4 separate regions of the Homo sapiens genome follow, and regions 2, 3 and 4 are each linked to region 1. Evidence: promoter capture Hi-C in human tissues and cell types (Jung and others, 2019). All regions are on one chromosome and are shown on one strand. Each heading gives the region's core, a stretch centred on a gene start or on the middle of the fragment in contact. The rest is flanking DNA. Distances are from core to core; before and after follow the strand shown. Region 1 holds the start of APOBEC3F (apolipoprotein B mRNA editing enzyme catalytic subunit 3F). Region 2 overlaps DMC1 (DNA meiotic recombinase 1). Region 3 overlaps GTPBP1 (GTP binding protein 1). Region 4 overlaps GTPBP1 (GTP binding protein 1).

The links. The method cuts DNA at HindIII sites, captures the fragments that hold promoters and counts their contacts. A contact is called where the count stands out against the background at its distance.
Region 2: a contact is called between a fragment that was not itself captured here and the fragment with the promoter of APOBEC3F in region 1, in 1 of the 25 tissues and cell types used here (spleen).
Region 3: a fragment that was not itself captured here is called in contact with the fragment with the promoter of APOBEC3F in region 1 in 1 of the 25 tissues and cell types used here (thymus).
Region 4: a fragment that was not itself captured here is called in contact with the fragment with the promoter of APOBEC3F in region 1 in 1 of the 25 tissues and cell types used here (mesenchymal stem cells).

Annotation. Positions count from the first base shown.
Region 1 is chr22:39,039,253-39,042,659 of GRCh38, forward strand. It overlaps APOBEC3F (apolipoprotein B mRNA editing enzyme catalytic subunit 3F), which reads left to right and starts at 1,612. Exons shown (of 7, transcript NM_145298.6): 1 at 1,612-1,725. The coding sequence starts at 1,709. RefSeq lists enhancers at 1,422-1,481, 2,534-3,311. The HindIII fragment of the contact is 19,854 bases long and covers 1-3,407 here.
Region 2 is chr22:38,557,289-38,560,695 of GRCh38, forward strand. The region is part of intron 5 of DMC1 (DNA meiotic recombinase 1); the gene reads right to left. Among named protein-coding and RNA genes, the nearest start is that of DMC1, 11 kb to the right of the region's middle. The HindIII fragment of the contact is 5,518 bases long and covers 1-3,407 here.
Region 3 is chr22:38,707,127-38,710,533 of GRCh38, forward strand. GTPBP1 (GTP binding protein 1) reads left to right here. Exons shown (of 12, transcript NM_004286.5): 2 at 1,719-1,830. Among named protein-coding and RNA genes, the nearest start is that of GTPBP1, 2.9 kb to the left of the region's middle. The HindIII fragment of the contact is 3,166 bases long and covers 1-3,005 here.
Region 4 is chr22:38,723,542-38,726,948 of GRCh38, forward strand. It overlaps GTPBP1 (GTP binding protein 1), which reads left to right. Exons shown (of 12, transcript NM_004286.5): 6 at 756-870; 7 at 2,465-2,609; 8 at 2,717-2,899. Among named protein-coding and RNA genes, the nearest start is that of GTPBP1, 19 kb to the left of the region's middle. The HindIII fragment of the contact is 3,648 bases long and covers 63-3,407 here.

The DNA of each region.
Region 1 (3,407 bases), core at 362-2,861:
TTTTGGCTGCTCCAGACTTCTTGGCTGCTGCAGGCCATCTGGATGTATATGTGCAGTTCACAGGGGTCACAATGGCTTAGCTCCGGCTCAGAGGCCTGACACTGACCTCAGATGATCCACCTGCCTCGGCCTCCCAAAATGCTGGGATTACAGGCGTGAGCCACTGTGCCTGCCTGGGATCATATGTTACACGCATGTTTGTTCAATAAGCATGGAGTGCAGCCACCCACATGAATATTCATAGCTCCTCCTATAGCCTGTTGAATATGTATGTTTAGCCAACCCCTTCAGCATAAAGCTCCTGCCCCAACCCCTCCTGCTTCTAAATGTCTGTCTCTGGTGTTTCCCAGAGGCTGCTCTTCCCAGGCTGCGGGATGGCTACCTTGCTGCCTGTCACCCTTAACAAGAAATAAAATCTCCTTTCCAAATTTATACATTGTGGCCAGGCGCGGTGGCTCACACCTGTAATCCCGGCACTTTGGTACGCCAAGGCGGGCGGATCTCCTCAGATCGGGAGTTCGAGATCAGCTGACCAACATGGAGAAACCCTGTCTCTACTAAAAATACAAAAATTAGCCAGGCATAGTGGTGGGCGGCTGTAAGCCTGACCAACATGGAGAAACACTGTCTCTACTAAGAATACAAAAATTAGCCTAGGCGTAGGGGTGGGTGCCTGTAATCGCAGTTACATGGGAGGCTGAGGCAGGAGAATCTTTTGAACCTGGGAGGCAAAGGTTGCGGTGAGCTGAGATTACGCCACTGTACTCCAGCCTGGGTAACAGAGCAAGTCTCCGTCTCAAAACAAACAAACAAACAAAAAAACACAAAAAAACAAAAGCAAACAAAAAAACCAAATGCATCCCTTGTGTAATTTTTAGGTCACCGCGCCATGGGAACACGCTACCAGGGGAAGGGAGCTGTGAGACGCGCAGGGAGGCTCCAGACAGGCTGGCCTGGGACACCAGCCACTGCTCTTCCATGACATGGGGACAAGAGGAGGCGAGAGCTCAGCCCACCAGGGAGGAACTCCGGGCAGGAGATGGGGAAGAAGGAGAAGCAGGAAGGAAAGAGCTCAGTGTGGGGGCGCGCATGGCATCCCGGTGGGACATCTGAGGCCCACACCCACCTGCTGTCCCTCCCTCCCACGGTGGCCTCCGAGGGTGAAGGCCTGGGGAGAGGCAGACACCTGGCCCTTTACTCTCCCTCCCTGTCCCCATGGCCGCTGGGTGGGGGCCGTCTCTGGGATGATCCCCGAGGGCAGGATCCGGGAGTCCCTGCGGAGGCATCAGCCTGTCTGTCTTGATGGTGGAGAGGAGGCTCCAGCTGGGCGGGACCACCAGGGGAGGGGCTTGTGCTCTGCTGGCTCAGCCTGGTGTGGACCCACCTCGCGGGCGCTGGCTGCAATGACTTTCTCTTTCCCTTTGCAATTGCCTTGGGTCCTGCCGCACAGAGCGGCCTGTCTTTATCAGAGGTCCCTCTGCCAGGGGGAGGGCCCCAGAGAAAACCAGAAAGAGGGTGAGAGACTGAGGAAGATAAAGCGTCCCAGGGCCTCCTACACCAGCGCCTGAGCAGGAAGGGGGAGGGGCCATGACTACGAGGCCCTGGGAGGTCACTTTAGGGAGGGCTGTCCTGAAACCTGGAGCCTGGAGCAGAAAGTGAAACCCTGGTGCTCCAGACAAAGATCTTAGTCGGGACTAGCCGGCCAAGGATGAAGCCTCACTTCAGGTACCGCTGCCCGCTCTACCCGCTGGGCCCCTCTGCTGCCCCTTCCTGCCTGGTGGCTCTGCTGGGCGTCAGCCCTGGCCTCCCCCTGCCCCAGCCCCAGCCCTGGGCTCCCTCCCCTCTGGCTCCCCTGCCCCCGCCACTCCCAGCCAGGCTCTTTTTCCTGCTCTGTGGTTGCCCCACTGCTGCTTCTGAATAGGCCGCTTCCCCACCTGCCCCAGCCCAGGTGCCCTGCTGAGACTCTCCCCCGCCACCGAAAGTCATGGCAGGGCTGGTGCTCCCGGCCCTGGGAGGGTGCTCCCTCTGTGTTCTTTCCGCCATTCCTGAACTCTGGAACTGGGAGAATTGAACCAAAGGATGATTAGAGCAATGTGGAATTTTGTTCACAGTGCTTTGATGGATTTTCTGTAACATTTACTTTGCTTAAATAGCAAGTCTTAGGAGAGGGTGTGGGGAGGGAATGGTCTCTGAAGCACAAGATAAATCGTATCTTCCAAGGATGTCTCCACTGTGGGCAGAGGAGGATGCAGATGACCCCAAACACACGCTCCTCCTCCACTATCAGCATTCACTGTTTATAAATGACACGAGTAACATGGAATATAGTGGCCGGGTGCGGTGGCTCACACCTGTCATCCCAGCACTTTGGTAGGCTGAGGTGGGTGGATTGCCTGAGGTCGGGAGTTCGAGACCATCCTGATCAACATGGATAAACCCTGTCTCTACTAAAAATACAAAATTAGCCGGGTGTGGTGGCGGGCGCCTATAATCCAGCTACTCCACAGGCTGAGACAGGAGAATCGCTTGAACCCAGGAGGCGGAGGTTGCAGTGAGCCGAGATCGCCCCATCGCACTCCAGCCTGGGCAACAAGAGCCAAATTTCGTCTCAAAAGAAAAAAAAACAAAAACAAAAAACATGGAATATATGGGAAAAAAACTCAATGATCAGGAGAAATGCTATTATTTTAAAATTTAGTAAGAAGAGAGTCTGGTCCCCAATGGCTCCCTCCTGCAAGGCTGGTGACACAGAGACTGGACAGGGCTGGTCTGGTAAGAGGCCCCAGCCCCATCCGTCCCCAGCTCTGTGGCCTGGGCAGGTTACCCCATCTCTCTGCGCCTCTGGCACCTCCTCTGTAAGATGGGAATGGCCCGTGCGGGCCTAGGGCAGCCTCACATGAGCTCACATCCGCGCAGCACTTAGAAGAGTGGCCTGGGCCTCAGAATTCGGTTCTACCATGATTTAACAATAGTAATATACAGAGGTGAAATGTCAGAAGGAACTGGCTGAAAGGTTAAAATCTATTATTTTGGGGTGAATAGTTTTATTCTCTCTCTCTTTTTTTTTTTTTTTTTTGAGATGGAGTTTCGCTCTTGTAGCCCAGGCTGGAGTGCAGTGGCACGATCTCGGCTCACTACAACCTCCGCCTCCCAGGTTCAAGCGATTCTCCTGCCTCAGCCTCCACAGTGGCTGGGATTACAGGCACCCACTACCACGCTTGGCTAATTTTTATATTTTTAGTAGAGACTGGGTTTCACCATGTTGGTGAGACTGGTCTCAAACTCCTGACCTCAAGTGATGGGCCTACCTCGGCCTCCCAAAGTGCTGGGATTACAGGCATGAGCCATAATGTCCAGCCAAGAACTTTGTTCTCTTTTGCATTTTACTAATGCGTTGGAGAATGGGT
Region 2 (3,407 bases), core at 471-2,970, 480 kb before region 1:
GCACAATTGTTTCCTTTTTGAGACTCAGGAAAATTTAGAATTAAGTGTAGAAATAGTGTTTTTAAATATAGGGAGATTTAAAAATAGAGACACAAATCAAACCCATAGATTACTATTTTCATATTAAATTTGGCAATATGGGCATGGTGGCTCATGTCTGTAATCTTAGCACTTTGGGAGGCCGAGGGAGGTGGATCGCTCGAGCCTGGGAGTTCAAGACCAGCCTGGATAACATGGCGAAACCCAGTCTCTACAGAAAATACCAAAATTAGCCAGGTATGCTGGCCTGTGCCTGCAGTCCCATCTACTCAGGCTGCAGTGAGCCGTGATGGAGCCACTGCATTTTAGCCTGGGTGACAGAGTGAGACCGTGTCTCAAAAAATAAAATAGAATATAAATAAATAAATTTGGTAATAACCTGTGCATATTTGCTATTTGAGACCTTTTAACGTTTAAGATAATTTGACCTTTTTGTAATGGATTGGCCTCTGACTGATTAAATGGTACATTCCTTCAATTTTCAAGTTGATAACTAATTTTATAAATAGTATTTGAACATTTAATGGTGCCTACAACTCACTATACTTCTAAATTTATTTGAGTTACAAAAGATATTTAGGTAATTGGGAAGATTTTGCTGTTAATAATTAGATAATTAGACAAAGTTCTTTTTTTTTTTTTTTTTTTTTTTTGAGACGGAGTCTCACTCTGTCGCCCAGGCTGGAATGCAGTGGCGTGATCTTGGCTCACTGCAACCTCTGCCTCCTGGATTCAAGCAATTCTCTGCATCAGCCTCCTGAGTAGCTGGGATTACAGGCACCCGCCACCATGCCCGGCTAATTTTTGTATTTTTAGTAGAGACAGGGTGATCCTGTCTTTAGTAGAGACCTTGTGATCCACCCGCCTCAGCCTCCCAAAGTGTTGGGATTACAGGTGTGAGCCAGTGCACCTGGCCAACAAATAAAGTTCTTAAAGAAAATACAATACACTAAATGTATAAACATAATTAAAATGTTTAAGAGAATTTAATCTTGTTATAAAAGCACCCTTAAAATGTGCTAGATTTATAAAGGGACTTAAAGCTTAAGGAAAAATGTATAATATTTTAATTAATTAAATATTAATTTTTAAAAACCTAGCTCCTGGCTGGGCGCAGTGGCTCACATCTGTAATCCCAGTACTTTGGGAGGCCGAGGCAAGTGGATCATCTGAGGTCAGGAGTTCGAGGCCAGCCTGGCCAACATGGTGAAACTCTGTCTCTACTAAAAATACAAAAATTAGCCCGGTGTGGTGGCACACACCTGTAGTCCCAGCTACTCAGGAGGCTGAGGCAGGAGAATTGCTTGAACCCAGGAGGCGGAGGTTGCAGTGAGCCGAGATCATGCCACTGCACTCCAGCCTGGGCGACACAGCAAGACTCTGTCTCAAAAGCAAACAAACAACAAAAAAAAACCTAGCTCCTGAATGATCTTTTCTGTTCTCAAGAGCAAACATCAAGGGCACCAGAAAACTCACAATAACAGTAATTATTTCTTTAGCCCAGTGGTTCTTAGACCACCATGTGGTAGAGTAACTAAAGAAAATCAGATTGTCATTTGAATCAAGTGTTTTGTTGATCAACCTCATTTTGACCAATTTGCCTAGGGGTAGGATTTCTCCAAGCCTCTTCCTTAACTTTACTTGAAAAAAGGGTATGTGATTTTAAAAGTCTGGGACAATGCTGGGTTAAACAGGTATTTTCTTTTTCTTTTTTTCTTTTGAGACTGAGTCTCACTCTATTGCCCAGGCTGGAGTGCAGTGGCACGATCTCGGCTCACCACAACCTCCATCTCCCAGGTTCAAGCGATTCTCCTGCCTCAGCCTCCCGAGTAGCTGTGACCACAGGCACATGCCACCATGCCCGGCTAATTTTTTGTATTTTTAGTAGAGACGGGGTTTCTCCATGTTGGTTAGGCTGGTCTCGAACTCCTGATCTCAAGTGATCCACCCGCCTCGGCCTCCCAAAACGCTGGGATTAAAGGTGTGAGCCACCGTGCCCAGCCATTTTTTTGGTAATTTTTAGTAGAGACAGGGTTTCACCATGTTGGCCAGGCTGGTCTAGAACTCCTGACCTAAGGTGATCCACCCATCTTGGCCTCCCGAAGTGCTGTGATTACAGGTGTGGGCCACCGTGCCCTGCCAAAACAGGTGTTTTGTGTCACTGCAGGATTTCACAGGCTAGTGTGCGCTGTGACTCTTCAAGAAGAATATATAGTATATGGTACTTCTCAAACTTATTCACTATTTGTTTATTCATTCATTTAGTCATTCAACAAATATTTATTGCACACCTAGTTTATGCCAGGGATTGTTTTGTGCACTTGGGATAAACTAGAGAACAAAAGAGACAGAATTTTTTTCTCTCACGAAGTTTACAATCTAGTGAGAGATTAGATAATAAACACAAATAGGCCAGGCGCCGGTAGCTCACACCTGTAATCCCAGCACTTTGGGAGGCTGAAGCGGTGGATCATGGGATCAGGAGTTCAAGACCAGCCTGGCCAAGATGCTGAAACCCTGTCTCTACTAAAAGTACAAAAATTAGCCGGGCGTGGTGGCGGGCACCTGTAATCCCAGCTACTCGGGAGGCTGAGGCAGGTGAATCGCTTGAACCTGGGCAGCAGAGGTTGCAGTGAGCTGAGATCATGCCACTGCACTCCAGCCTGGGTGACAGAGCAAGACTCCGTCTGAAAAAAAAAATAAATAAATAAAATAAAAAATAAACACAAATAAGTAAAATATGTAGTACATCAGATGTTATTAAATGGTATGGATAAAAATAAGGCCAGGAAAGGGGACAAGGAAGACAGAGTATGAAAGTTAGGAGGTTATACTGTCAAATAAAGTGATCAGAGAAGTTCTCATTGAGACATGGACATTTTTGCCAAGACCTGAAAGAGATGACAGCAAGCCATGTAGATCTAAGAGGAAAGAATATGATAGGCAGAGGCAGCACAAAGTGCAAAGGCCCTGATGCAGGAGTGTATCTGACATATTCTGGGAATAGCAAAGAGGTCACTATGGCTGGTACATAGAAAACTAGAAAAGTGAAATATTAGAGATGGGAGAGGACTTTGGCTTCTTTTCTGAGTGAGAGGGGGAATCATCAGGGTGTTATGAGCCACTGCATTCCAGCCTAACCTATGTTTTAAAGTGACCATTCTGGCTCTTTAGTGAATTAAAAAAAAAAACAAAACAGTAGGGGCAAGGTCTCAAGGAGGGAGGTTAATTAGAGGTTATTATAATAATCCAGGGGAGATATTAATAGGTGGTAGTTTAGTCCAGTGAGGTAACAGTAGAGGTGGTAAGAAATAGTTGAATTATATTCTCACTCTCTATGTACACACACACATATACACATAAAAATA
Region 3 (3,407 bases), core at 173-2,672, 330 kb before region 1:
CTAATAGTGCCTGATGCATACTAGAGACTCAGTAAATGTTTGAAGTGAACGAGATAGTTCCTAATTTCCTGTGCAGATTAAATAGCAGTGGGTGAAAGATAGAACACCAATACCACCACTTACATTTGTAGGATAGTTACGATAGACATTTTATCCAGCTTTGAAAATGTTTGTGACTTTTTATAGTTTATGGCGGCAAATTTGCATGAAACTTGGTCCTAAACTGGGGAGGAACTTTCCCTGCAACCTAAGCAAGTTATTTTCAACTGCTCTTTGCCATTGTAGTCTCAGGTGAGCACTTGGAAGCCAGCTAGCCTGTCAAAGTTGGTCCTGTCTTGTGCCTGTAAGGCCATAATGAGGATGGCCAAACTTAGAGAGAGGGATGGCCAGGACGATGTAAAAGACCCAGGAAACATCCAGGTTACAATTACAAGCTCTGATGAGTCAACTCAGGAAGTTACAAGATTATGGACCTGACTCAAGAGCAAACAAACTGGATGTCAACACATGGTCAAGGTGCTGAAGAAACATGATAGGAAATTGCAGGGCAGAGTTGCAAAGACGGTAGTACCTTCATTTCTTGACCAGCTCATTTAATATTCCTAGAAGTGTTATTTCATCACATAGCTGGGGAAGTCCTCCTTACAATTAAAAAAAATCATATGTATATTAATATCGATGATATCAAAAAGAAAAAGTGATGGTGTGGAGGGAGAGAAGGGTTGGGTTGAATAGATTGATTCCGGAGGAACAGATTAGAAGCGAAAGGTTCATGTCCTTACGATAGAAAATGTGGAGACCTAAGGCTCCGAGAGCTTCCAAAGGGAGAAACACTTAGTGAATAGTGGTGGCTAGTTTCATCCAACAAGGTTTTTCTGGGAATGATTGGGTGAAGAAAACCTTGTAGTTTCACATTTATTGAGCTGTGGACTAGATGCTTTACATGTTATTATATTTGCTCTTTACAGTGGCCTTAGGATGCAGGTAGTATTAGCTCCGTTTTATAGATTGAAAAACTGAAACTCAGAGTGGTTAAATTCTTTGTCCAAGGTCACACAGGAGTGGTTAGAGAATGGGGTCTGATTGCCAAATGGCTTACCCAAGTAAATGGTTGACACTTCAATGTTATTGGCAGACATTTGCAAAATGACGGTGCTAATACTCCTCGTAGTGGTAATGGTGATGGTGCTTTGTTGATGAAGATGAGTCTTGCAGGCAGTTTTCATTCCCAAATATTCAATATAGCTAAGACAAGATAGAACAGAATTCTTTTGTTATCCTGGAAGCCACTGGCCTGTGGGTGGAGGGCATGGAGGTATATGAGGTATATGTCTTGTGGGCTTCCAGATGCCAACTGCAGGTAGAAGACTTTGGCATGTAGATGGAAAGCACTGCGCTTTCTATCCACAGTGCCATATTCTCAGTCACTTGGGTCCTGCCCTTCCTGTTAAGCAGCAGGAGGCAGGCTGCTTGTGCCCTCTTTACCATGGGTTATGGCTCAGACATACACATTGTAGTATATTATTTGGCTCATATAAGGCCTGAGGCTCAAAGGCTACTTCAGGAGAAGCAGAGAGGGCATGAAGGGGCTGTGCAGCCTTTTTAGATGAGGGTGCTATGGGGTTCAGTCAGGATCTTTGGTTAGGCTATATTGATCAGCTTTGGCTGTGGTGCTCTTCTAGCAAGTGTGGTCCTAAGGCTGTTGGTTTCTTTTCTAGCTGGTTCTAGTGAGCCCTACATCAGAGCAGTATGACAGCCTACTTCGGCAGATGTGGGAGAGGATGGACGAGGGATGCGGAGAGACCATATATGTCATTGGGCAGGGATCAGGTGAGCATAGTTTTCCTTTCACTTTATTTTTAAAAATTATTGGGCCGGGTGCGGTGGCCCTGCCGCCTGTAATCCCAGCACTTTGGGAGGCCAAGACGGGTGGATCACCTGAGGTCAGGAGTTCGAGACCAGCCTGGCCAACATGGTGAAACCCCATCTCTACTAAAAATACAAAAAATTAGCCGGGCGCTAATTAGTGGTGGCAGGCGCCTGTAATCCCAGCTACTTGGGAGGCTGAGGCAGAAGAATTGCTTGAACCTGGGAGGCGGAGGTTGCAGTGAGCCAAGATCGTGCCATTGTGCTCCAGCCTAGGCGACAAGAGTGAAACTCTGTCTCAAAAAAAAAAAGAAATTATTTAGAGCACATTTTCCCCGCTTTTTGAACTTTTCTGCTTATGTGTCTCAGTTACAGTGATTCTTTAGTGTCTGCAGAACTGTTTGGAGTACATAAAAGTACAAAGTGAATGTTAATTCTGACCTTAGTGGCCATAATATGCTTGACTTTCCAAGCAGTTTTACAGATGCTTCCTTTTTACCTCCAGTACTCTCTATTTGCATAAGAGGAAATGAAGCACAAAGCAAAGGAACTTCTTGTCTAAGGTAATAGGGCAAGCCATAGTTAGGTCTAGAATTAAGCTTATTCCTGGGCAGCTGGAGGTCTTCCCTTCCAGGCCCTGTTTACAGATCCCATTGCGACTTATTTTCTGCTTAGCAGAGGACCTCCGTGATTCTTCTTGGTGTCAGCAGAGAAAAGATGCCCAGAATTCCTCTCTTGTCAGGCTCCTTGCCCCAGACCCTACTGACTATTTAGTCTGGATAGCTGGGATAACAGAGGTCGTCCTCTCTCCCCACTGGATCCTGTCAGACACATAGGCTTGTAACCATTCTGAAAGGGACTGGTTATTGTTCTCCAAGCTGCTTATTCCTTGTAACAGAACCTACTATTTTAGAGGAAGGCAGCCCTCACAACAATCCCAGAGTATATTATGGTTTCTTCCCCTGGTCACTCCTAGTTAGCAACTTCAATACAAGACCTGCTTACCTTCATCTTCATTATGGGATTATCTTTGCTGAAATGACAGCTGGGGTTGTTAACGATTATGAATTCAGCCCATACCAGCACTTGTCTCTGTCATCTTTGCAGGAAGCCCAGGTGGGCCTGGATGCATCATTAAAGAAACACTTTTCTTTGCTGAATGTAGGCTTTGTAAAGCCAGGTAATAATTCTTTTGTAGTTTGAGTTGAAGATTGAAGAAATCTCAAAATCATTCTTAAACTATTTTATACATATCTATTAAGTATCTTCTAAGGCCTGCCACTGTTGCAAAGCTCTTTTGGAAACTTAAAATCTGATCCCTGCCCCAAGGAGGAAAGATGGCATATACACAAATAACCTCCATGGGAAACAGTATTTGGAAATGTTGTAAGAGTGACATAAAGAAGAAGGATTTGCTCTCCAGATGCAGCTGTGCCTTCCTTTGAAATATCTTTCGTATCTGTTCTTTCCTTCCCATCCTTGCTGCTACCTCTCTAGTTGCGGGTCTTACCACCTAAAGGAAGGCATGGTCAGAGAGATAG
Region 4 (3,407 bases), core at 637-3,136, 320 kb before region 1:
CTTAGGTCTTGGCCTGAATTTCCATCAGCCCAGAATCTTCTGCTACTTCCTCCCCTATTTAGTTCTTGGTCTGAACACAGCCTAGAATTATCCTCTTCCTTGTTCCTTCTGGTTCCAAATGCAGAAATCTTGAGATCCTGAATCTGGCACCTCTTTTCAGGTGACCCCAGGCAGAAGGAGTTGGGCTCTACCAGCTAAGCTGGATATATACGGGGAAGTTTGGACAGAGGGTCTGATTACCTTTTGCCACCAAAGCTTTGACACAGGGTTGCAGGACTAAGCCTTCATGCCTTTCTCCCTCACTGCTAAAGATTGTAGAAAAGTATCCCTTTGGGAAGCCTCATAATAAGGGTCTCTGTAGACTTCTAAATGTCTAAGAGATCCTTTTTGTTGGATGAGATTTTTTTCCAGGAAGTAGTGCATTCTGAGAACTGAAGTGTGAAGTGAATTGTTTTTCTTGGGGACCCTCAAGTCACATGCTTACAGGAGGCAGGTCGTCTAGACACAAGAGAAATCTGCCAGGTTTCAGACGCAGAACCCTAGAAAAGAGGCCCCATCTGTGCTTTTCTTACTCTAGCAGCACCCAAAGTTTTGATCCTCCTTTTTGCTTCTCCAGGCATTGTGGCATTTAACACTGGTCCATCTATCTGTCTGTCTCCTGCTTGCATCAGTAATGAGTGGACCCATCTTGCTCTTAAAGCCTGGCCAAAGAGAAGGCTGTGTCCCCCTAATTCTGTTCCATTGCACCCTTTAAGAAACCCTGAAGCTGTTACAGCGCCTGCTGAAGTCACCAGGCTGCCGGAAGATCCCCGTGCTGGTGCAGAGCAAAGATGATGTGATTGTCACAGCCTCCAACTTCAGCTCTGAAAGGTAACGCGTGGGGAGCGCACACTTCAGACAGGCACCCTTGCAGGCAGGACCACAGTGAGTGATGGGCCTGGAATGGCTGTCAGTTTGGGCATAAGGTCTCATGAAAACACCACATCAACACCTCTCCCTATTCAGAGATCGGAGGAAATAGAAGCTTCCAATCTTAGCGCAGGGTCTCCCAAGCCAGCATTGTTGCCCAGGGGTAATATCACGTAACCCAGATTGTGAGGTGCTGGCATTCCTGGGGTTGGCATCCCGGCTGAGACTTCAGTGTCCTTATCTGTGAAATGGGAATAACATTCCCTTCCCTGTAGGGCTCCCGTGAATGTTGGAAATGAAGTATGTAGAGCACTTAATGCCCTGCCTGGCTGATGGATGGTAAATACACAGCCATTTTTGTAACTCAGTTTTTTATACTGTTGTTCCTCAAAAGCTCACTAATCAGATCAGTTTTGGCATTTACTCATTAATGTATTCTTTCATTCCATAAATATTTATTGGATGTTTGTTCTGCGAGACTCTTCATCTAGATGTTGAGGATTCAGAGTTGAATTGAACACAATCCTTGTCCTCAAGGTGTTCAGCTCCTTGGTGAGAGATGCTCTCTCGATAATGGTGAACTCTACTAACTCTGCCTGTTTGCCCAGAGCTTGGTCTATAGCGCCAGGCCCAGAGCAGCCTGGCTTTTTGCCTATGCCTCTGCCCTGATGTGATCTTCAGTACCATCAGTTAGCCTGCAGAGGGGGCACATTTCAGACAGCCCCATTTGAGCTTGTTGATATTCTTGAGTGCCTATTCTGTGCAGGCACTATTCTAGGAGCTGTGGGGAATGTGTAATTCGTGATCTCAAGGATTTTAATTCAGTCACCCTGAATAGGAGCAATAGAGGCCATTTACAGGACTCTGATGAAAAATCAGATGCAGTCATGTGTAATAGAGAAAAAGCTCTCCAGGAACTCAGAGGAGTCAAGAGTGTCCACCCAGGAAGGATTTCATGGAAGAAGTGGTATTTGAGATGAGCTCTGAAGGGTGAGAGGGCCTGGTAGTTGCATAAAAGGGAAAGAATTCAGGAAGGAAGGTCAGAGTGAGCAAATCCACAAGGGCAGAAAAGTTCCAAAGTTTTAGGAGAAGGGAGAGTTCTCTGGTGTGGCTGGAATATAGGAATTTGCGAGAAGTGAATCTGCAGAGATGGCTACAAGCCCAAGCCAAAGGGCTGTGAGTGTTGGGAGAGGGATTTGGGGTATCTTCTCTGTGGTGGAAAGGCGGTTAAGGATTTTAAGCAAGCATGCGTGTGTTTTAGGAAGAAGCAGTCATGAGGTTCCAAACTAGGGCAGTGGTGGAGGACAGAGAGGAGAGGACAGGTGTCAGAGACAGAACTGAGTGAGAGAAGAAGGCCTCAGAGTAGGGCTGGCCAGGAGCTTGCTAGGTCAGGGCAAAGAGGTCAAGCCCTTGGAGGCAGGTGAGGGAGAGGTGGAGTCATGAATAGTGGCATCTGCTCCTCGAGCCCTGTTGCTGCCCCTGGTCTGTGTCAGGGCAGGACCTGGTCTCCTGAGTGCCTCTCTCCTTTTTTCCTTCCTCTTCTCCCTCTGCTTAGGATGTGCCCGATATTCCAGATCTCCAACGTTACAGGCGAGAACCTAGATCTGCTGAAGATGTTCCTCAACCTCCTCTCCCCCCGCACCAGCTACAGGGAGGAGGAGCCTGCTGAGTTTCAGATTGATGACACCTACTCCGTCCCGGTAAGTGGCTCTGGGCGGGTAGCTGGGTGGGCACTTCCTACAGTGGCATCAGGGGGTGGGTCTGTGCTGGGGATGCACTTATGAGGCCAGGGTCTTCTCCTTGGCAGGGTGTGGGGACAGTGGTTTCGGGGACAACACTGAGAGGCCTGATCAAGCTGAATGACACGCTGCTGCTGGGCCCAGACCCCTTGGGTAACTTCCTGTCCATTGCTGTCAAATCCATCCATCGCAAGCGCATGCCTGTCAAGGAGGTGCGGGGTGGCCAGACAGCATCCTTTGCGCTGAAGAAGGTGAGTAGCGATGATACTGAACGCTCCCCTCAGACTCCATCATGCTAGGCTCTTGGCCAGATGCCCTGCTCACCCACTCTAGTCCTCATGGCTGCTCTGCAAGGTCGGGATTACTGGCTTCATTTTTACAGATGAGGAAACTGAGGCTCAGAGCCCAGGGACTTGCCCAAGACACACAGCTTGTAAGTGCTAGAGCGAGGAATGCCTCCTTCTAAGCTCCGTTCCTCCCTCTGGTGCCTGAGCAGGGTGGCCTGAGCTCAGTGGTGAGGTCAAATAGGAGTATCCCTGCTGTGCAAGGATCCTTCTACATAGGACCATTGGGATCTGCGCCACATCCTCTTCCCATTCAGCCTTCTATCTCCTGGGGTTTGGGGTGGGTTGTAGTTCAGGGGTCACCTACCTTTACCCACCAACTAAATTAACCAGGAATAGTAGGACTTTCTTCCCCACAGTGGTCAGGTCATGCCCACCTGTTGTTCCCCCTGAATGCTTGCCTGCCTTTGCTTCC